2 separate regions of the Homo sapiens genome follow, and region 2 is linked to region 1. The links are contacts of gene promoters, found by promoter capture Hi-C in blood cells and fetal thymus (Javierre and others, 2016). All regions are on one chromosome and are shown on one strand. Each heading gives the region's core, a stretch centred on a gene start or on the middle of the fragment in contact. The rest is flanking DNA. Distances are from core to core; before and after follow the strand shown. Region 1 holds the start of CEP72 (centrosomal protein 72). Region 2 overlaps EXOC3 (exocyst complex component 3).

What was found. The method cuts DNA at HindIII sites, captures the fragments that hold promoters and counts their contacts. A CHiCAGO score of 5 or more calls a contact.
Region 2: a contact is called between a fragment that was not itself captured here and the fragment with the promoter of CEP72 in region 1, in 2 of 17 cell types (M2 macrophages and naive B cells). The highest score is 6.9, in M2 macrophages.

What each region holds. Positions count from the first base shown.
Region 1 is chr5:610,528-614,248 of GRCh38, forward strand. It overlaps CEP72 (centrosomal protein 72), which reads left to right and starts at 1,813. Exons shown (of 12, transcript NM_018140.4): 1 at 1,813-1,916. The coding sequence starts at 1,835. CEP72-DT (CEP72 divergent transcript) reads right to left here and starts at 1,683. Exons shown (of 3, transcript NR_103444.1): 1 at 1,625-1,683; 2 at 920-1,226. RefSeq lists enhancers at 736-1,666, 1,667-2,596. The HindIII fragment of the contact is 7,839 bases long and covers 1-2,506 here.
Region 2 is chr5:452,955-456,693 of GRCh38, forward strand. It overlaps EXOC3 (exocyst complex component 3), which reads left to right. Exons shown (of 13, transcript NM_007277.5): 4 at 416-1,097. Among named protein-coding and RNA genes, the nearest start is that of EXOC3, 12 kb to the left of the region's middle. The HindIII fragment of the contact is 5,460 bases long and covers 1-3,739 here.

The DNA of each region.
Region 1 (3,721 bases), core at 563-3,062:
GTATACCCCCTGCACACACCTCTACACATACCTTCACACACCATGTATACCTCCTGCACACACCTCTGCACACACCTCCTGCACACACCTTGTGTACACTCCCTGCACACTGTTGCACACACCCCCTGCACATAGCCTCTGCACACAGCCTGTGTACACTCCCTGCACAGATCCCCTGCACACACCTCCCACACACATCCTCTGCACAAACCCTGTGTATACCTCCTGCACACACATCTACACACACCTCCTGCACACACCTTGTGTACACCCCCTGCACACTGTTGCACACACCTCCTGCACACACCTCCTGCACACACTGTTGCACACACCCCCACACATAGCCCCTACACACACCTCTGCACATACTGTTGCACACACCCCCACACATAGCTCCTGCACACACCTCCTGCACACACCTCCTGCACACACTGTTGCACACACCCCCACACATAGACCCTGCACACACCTCCTGCACACACTGTTGCACACACCCCTTGCACATACACCCTGTATATACCCCCTGCATACTCCTTATGTACAGCACTGCACATACTCCCTGCAGAGACCCTGTGTGCATCCTCTGCACACACCCCTTCTGTATACTGTCTGCACACACCCCCTACATGTACACCCTCTGCACACTCCTCCTGCATACACCCCATGTACACCTTCTGCACACACTCCCTGAACACATTCTGAGTACACCTCCTGCACACCCCGTGTACAACCTCTGCACACACCCCCTACACACTCCCCTACACACTCCCCTACACCATCCACACACACTCCCTGCACACAGCCCCTGCACACATTCCCCATGTACACCCTCTGTCTGTGTATACCCTCGTCTACTACCACCATACGTACCCCCCACCACTACCCTGCCTTGTCTATCACCCCCCAGGCTGTGACATACCAGGGATGTTGCCAACGAGCTGGTCTAATCTGGGGTGAGGGTTTCTGGGTGCCCCTAGACACCAGGAGAAAGGCGGGGAGGGGACACCCCTGGGGGTCTGGATTCACTCCACCAGGCGCTGGGCCACAGTGGTACGGTGACACAGTAGATGTCTTGAGCAGGATTAAAGTCTTCCCAATAAACAGGCTGAACTCTGTCTTCCTTGAAAGCTCTGTAGAAGGACCTCACAAGGATAAACACAGCGAGACCCTCCAGGGCGCGGTCAGCCACGAGCCACAGTGCTGGGCCTGTGACATCTCTGGAGGTTCTGGGGTGGAGAAGGACCGGCCGTGGGGAGTGACTGGCTGGGGAGAAGCTCAGCTCCCGCCCACCTCTGGGAGGCCCGGGGCTGGACGGGAGGTGCAGCAGACAAGGCTCCGGGCGGGTGCTGGGGTGTCTGGAGGGGTCCCCGCGGGGGGGTCGGGTTGGGTGGGGAGTCTAGGTGAGTCGGGGGTCCCCGGGGGCGCTGGGTTCAGGGTGGGAGCGGAGTGTGGATGGGGCAGGGTCCCCATGCCCACCACCAGCCGCGATTCCACCGCGCCTACTCGGGGTTTCCCCGGGAGGACACCGCGTGTGTCAAGGGCCGGGGCCTAGAAGGCGGCCGCGCCCAGGGAAGCCTTGACAGGGAGCTATCTGGGGCGGGGGCTGGGGTCGCGTGGCCAGTACCTGGGAGAACCGCCATTCAGGAGAACCCCCCGCCAGGCTCTTGGTTCCGCCCACGCAGTCCCGCCCCCTCCCCCAGCCACGCCCCTCGCCCCGCCGCGCAGGCCCCGCCCCGTCCCGCCAGGCTCTCGGTTCTGCCGACGCAGGTCCCGCCCCTCTCGTAGCCTCGCCCCGCCCGCCGCGCAGGCGCCGTCCGAGGGCTCCGTTTGAAACATGGCGCGGGCTGGCCCTCGGCTGGTGCTGAGCGAGGAGGCGGTTCGGGCGAAGAGCGGCTTAGGGCCTCACCGCGACCTGGGTGCGCCGGAGGGCGGGCGGGGGTGCAAGCGTGAGGTGGCGGGGGGGTGGGTGCCGAGCTTCCCGGGGCGGCGGCGGACCGTGGGCAGGCGGGACCCGTCTACGCAGGCGCCGCGGGCGTCCGGAACGGTCGCGGGCGAGCGGGGCGCGCGTGTCCAGGTGAGCGACCCACCCCCCGTGCCCAGGTGCGGCCCCTGCCCGCGTTCGGGTCCCGGCGTCCCGGCCCCTGCCTGTCTATCGGGTCACTGGTTCCGTGACTGGGGGTTACATCCGCTGAGAAGAGGGAGCCGGCCTTGCTGTCCAGGAGCGCAGCCCGCCCTCCCGCTGGGGATCACCTCCCTGGTTCTCCTGGGCCCACTCTGTGGTGATTGTTGCGCTCGGCCTTCTTGAGGATGTTGGTGGCCGGTTTCCTTCTTTTTGGCTTATTTTTGTCTGGTTTTGGCGTCAAGGTGAAGCCGAGCTCATAAACTGCTGAGAAGTGTTGCCTTCTCTTATATTTAGAAGAGGTTCTGTAGAGTGTGTGCTCATTGTTTGAATGTTTCCTGGAATTTTCCAGTGAAACCATATGGACATGTCAATTTCTGTTTTTGAAGCTTTTAAATGACAAATTCTGTATCTCTGGTTGTTAGAGAACCGTTCATATTAGTTCACCGCGAGTCTTGGCTGTGTGGGGTTTTGTGGCATTGGCTTATTTGAGCTAACTTGTGGAGTGTGTGTGTTGAGTTGTTTCTGGTGTTCTGTTGTTAGCCTGTTAATGTCTGTGTGTGGTCTGCAGGTGTTACTGGACCAACAGGTTCAGTCAGGTGCTGTGGGGGCCACAGGCCAATACACTGAGACAGTGGGGTTTGCAGCAGAGAAAGAGTTTAAGGCTGGCAGGGGCCCAGCAGGGAGGTGGAAGGAGGCCTCAATCCATCTCCCCAAGGAGATCTGAGCGGTTTTTTTTTTTTAGACGGAGTCTCACTCTGTCGTCCAGGTTGGAGTGCAGTGGCACAATCTCAGCTCACTGCAACCTCCACCTCCCAGGTTCAAGTGATTCACTCAGCCTCCTGAGTAGCTGGGATTACAAGCACGCGCCACCATGCCCGGCTAATTTTTTATATTTTTAGTAGAGACGGGGTTTCACCATGTTGGCCAGGCTGGTCTTGAACTCCTGATCTCAGGTGATCCACCTGCCTTGGCCTCCCAAAGTGCTGGGATTACAGGCATGAGCCACCTACACCCAGCCTGAGCTGGGGGTTTTAGAGGAACAGGACTGTGAGGAGCTGGAAGATTGGTGTTGTCAGTTGGTGGAGGTAAGGGCCATGGAATTATCAGGGTGTGGAAACTGCATTCTTTGGTGAATCCGCTTGCGGGGCCCTTTAGACCAGCTGGCATCAGTCCCCAGGTCCTGAAAGAATATCTCAAATGGAAAACTTAACGGTTTATAATGTCCAGGTTATTATCTGTAGAGTGGTTAAGGGGAACTGTAACCTCGTGACAAAATCCAAGTGATCCTGAGGCAGTAGGCACCACAGGGCTCTGAGGAAGCAGGTGAGAGGGCAGCTGACCTCGGGACATGCCGAGTCCTCCCTTCTTCCCTGATTAGTGCTACAAGGTTTACAGGGATATCCCTTTTCTGTTCCTGATGTTGATAATCTGTGTATTCTTTCTTTTTTAGTCTTGCTAGAGGCTTGTGAATGTTATTGATAGTTTCAAAGAACCGACTTTGGGTTTGATTTTTCTCCAGTGTTTTTCTAGTTTCAAATTTCATTGATTTCTGCTTTTTTTTATTTCCTTCTTTCTGCTTGCTTTGCATTTATTTTATAC
Region 2 (3,739 bases), core at 279-2,778, 160 kb before region 1:
GGCCACTTACCTCTTCGCACCTCTGTGGTCAGAAGCAGCAGTCAGTGATCTGAGTACAGATCTCCGGTGTGGAGGACAGGGTTCTTTTTGCCCAGCCAGGCTGCAGGCTGTGTGCAGGCAGCTTTAGGAACACATCAGCACATGCACAGCTGCCTGCGGGGTGGGAGGTGGGGCCTCGGTAGCCACTGCCCAGCTGAGAGCTGCAAATGACCACAGTTAACCACAGTTTACCATTTATGCCTTTAATAGACTCCAGAGTTCCAAAGATAGTTACCTCAGACACATCCTGCCATTGCAGTTGTTGTTAGCTAGGGAGATGTGGCTTCCTGCTCTGCCGTGTTCCCAGAACACCGCATGCAGGCAGCCTTTTATGTGGTGGTGGTTGTTTATGTTGTGTCTTGTGCCTTCTCCCTAGTGCCTGAGATTGTGAGGGAGACCCAGGACCTAATTGAACAAGGGGCACTCCTGCAAGCCCACCGGAAGCTGATGGACCTGGAGTGCTCCCGGGACGGGCTGATGTACGAGCAGTACCGCATGGACAGTGGGAACACGCGTGACATGACCCTCATCCATGGCTACTTTGGCAGCACGCAGGGGCTCTCTGATGAGCTGGCTAAGCAGCTGTGGATGGTGCTGCAGAGGTCACTGGTCACTGTCCGCCGTGACCCCACCTTGCTGGTCTCAGTTGTCAGGATCATTGAAAGGGAAGAGAAAATTGACAGGCGCATACTTGACCGGAAAAAGCAAACTGGCTTTGTTCCTCCTGGGAGGCCCAAGAATTGGAAGGAGAAAATGTTCACCATCTTGGAGAGGACTGTGACCACCAGAATTGAGGGCACACAGGCAGATACCAGAGAGTCTGACAAGATGTGGCTTGTCCGCCACCTGGAAATTATAAGGAAGTACGTCCTGGATGACCTCATTGTCGCCAAAAACCTGATGGTTCAGTGCTTTCCTCCCCACTATGAGATCTTTAAGAACCTCCTGAACATGTACCACCAAGCCCTGAGCACGCGGATGCAGGACCTCGCATCGGAAGACCTGGAAGCCAATGAGATCGTGAGCCTCTTGACGTGGGTCTTAAACACCTACACAAGGTAAAGCTAACCTGGCGCCTGTGTTGGCTCTTAGGTAGAAGCCGTGTGTGAGAGGGGCCTGCAGCTGCTTGCTGGAGAGCCGACCTCAGGGTGTTGCTCTGGGCAGGTGCTCCGAGCCCACAGCCTTGGTTTCCAGCCCAGGGGTGTCTTCTTTCTGCTCTGCCTGCTGGTGCCCAGCCTCTGGTGTTTGAACACTGTTGTGCTTGGGAGGGATCTCTGCTCTTGGCCTCCAGCCCCCGTTGAGCTTGACAGGGTGCAGCTCTGGGCTGGGCCTGTTTCCTGTGCTCACCGTGTGCTGACTTGCTTCCTTGCAGTGACACCCTGAGGCAGGTGTGTTGTTACCCCATTTTACAGGTGAGGACACATGGTCCCAGGCGGGGCTGGGACTGGCACATGGCCACCCCACTGGGGAGGAGACCACTACATCACCTCCCTGGCTTCCAGCATCCCGGGTTTGGTTTCTCTTCACCAATATCCTATAGCAGTGAGTCTTTCAAAAATAAACAGTTACAAGTCTAGATAGTTCGAGGAAACTCCATCATCCTTTTTGTATCCTAGTACGAGGTTTTGTCACTTCACTTAAGGGACCATGAACCACTCTGTGCGTGGATTAATTTGAAGTAGTGTTGAAAAATGGTGCAGTGGTGGGGGTATTCTGAAATTCTTTAAGATTAGGTAGCCGAAATGAAAATTTATTTCAATTTTCCATGGTTTCATGGTTAGAAAATAATATTAAGTAATGTATTGGAATTTCTTCTTCTTCTTTTTTTTCTTCCGCCCATCTTGTCACTGCAGTGGAGAAATTGAATAAACCTCATTTTTTTTTTTTTTTTTTTTAGCAGTAAGGCATATTTTTTTGTGTGCTTTGTTTACTGGTATCTGCTTATAGAGAATTTGCATTTCAATACAGAAGGACAGAAGAGAAAGGAAGCGCCCCCTGCAGAGAATGGTCACCGTGACGCTCTGTGCAATGGTGGCTCTCTGTGCAACCGTGGCGCTCTGTGCAACTGTGGCTCTCTGTGCACAGCCCTGGACTCACCTCCCCTGGCTGCCGCTCATCCTCATGGCCGCCCATTCTGTAGCCTTGACAGTGCAGGTCTCCCCCTCCGTGCCTGGTGTGTGTCAGCAGCCCATGAGGCAGGAGGCAGGGGACACGGCCAGTGAGTGGGAAGCTGGATTCCAGTCCCATCCCTGGGCCCTCCCGGGCCATGGCCACTAGGCTGGGCTGTGCATGTGTGCACCTTGCACAGTTTGTGTCTTGATTTTGTCTTTCCACGTTGTGAGTGTTTTTCTGTCCTTGGGGAGTCTCGTGAGTTCCATCACCCCGGCCTTTCTCAGGGGAGGTTGAAGTGCTCCACTAGAAACATTCTCACACGGAATTGAGGTTCTTGGGAAAAATAATCCAGATTAAATAAAAGTCTTTTAAAATGTGCAGAATTTTAGGAAGTACTTTTTCACTTAGGAAGCTCTCGGATTTCTTATAGTGGACTGGCTCTTAATCATTTTATTCAGTGTTACTCTGAGAACGTATTTACGGAACATAGCATGAGGCGTGTGAGTTGAAAGAATTTTCTGAGTGGTCAAACCTTAGACTTAAAAAAACTTTTTAATTTTAATTTTTGTGGGTACATAGTAGGTGTATCCCGGCTTCACGCCATTCTCCTGCCTCAGCCTCCCGAGTACCTGGGACTACAGGCGCGTGCCACCATGCCCCGCTAATTTTTTTGTATTTTTAATAGAGATGGGGTTTCACTGTGTTAGCCAGGATGGTCTCAATCTCCTGACCTCATGATCCGCCCGTCTCGGCTTCCCAAAGTGCTGGGATTACAGGCGTGAGCCACCATGCCCGGCTGATAATAACTTTCTAATGAAAACTTTTCCTGAAATGTAGCATGTGTTTCCTGTCTTCTGGACAGTAGACCTCACGTAGTTTTGCCTGTTCTTGCGGATGCGTTTTTATCAGTAATGTCCTGTATTGTACGTTCCAGTCATCACCGTCTGCAGAGCATATTGATGTGGACTGCAGTGGCTTGTTTCCAAAGGACAGCACAGCTGCCCCTCCATACTCAATGGGGAGGGATTCCAGGACCCCCCTTGGCTATCAAAATCCTCCGTAGCCCAAGTCCCCTTTATAAAAGGGTATAGTGTTTGCACGTAACCTGCGTACATTCTCCTTCATGCTCTAAATCATTTCTAGATTACTTATAAGACTAAATACAATGTGAATGCTATGGAAATAGTTGTTCTATATTTTTTGAAATTTTTATTATTTTTTATTGTTGTTTTTCCCAAATACTTTCAGTTTGTGTTTGGTTGAGTCAGTGGACGTGGCGCCCGTGGCTGTGGGGGCGGCTGTGCTTGTCGTTTTGACTGAGTACGTTTGTTTATTCAGCGCCTCCTGTTTGCCAGGCCCTGCCTCGGCTCTGCAGGTGCAGTGAATAGAACACACGTCTTCCCCACAGGAAAGGCTCTTCCACATTTGAGCCCCAGCACCTCATGAAGCTGGCGCAGCAGGGTGAAGCTGGGGTTGGAGGGACTCAAGTGGTCTCGGAGCCAGTGGGTGATGCCACAGAGACCCCAAAGCCCTCGGCCCCTGCCCTGCACTTTCCCCGGTTGGAGGGACTCACGCAGTCTGGGAGCCA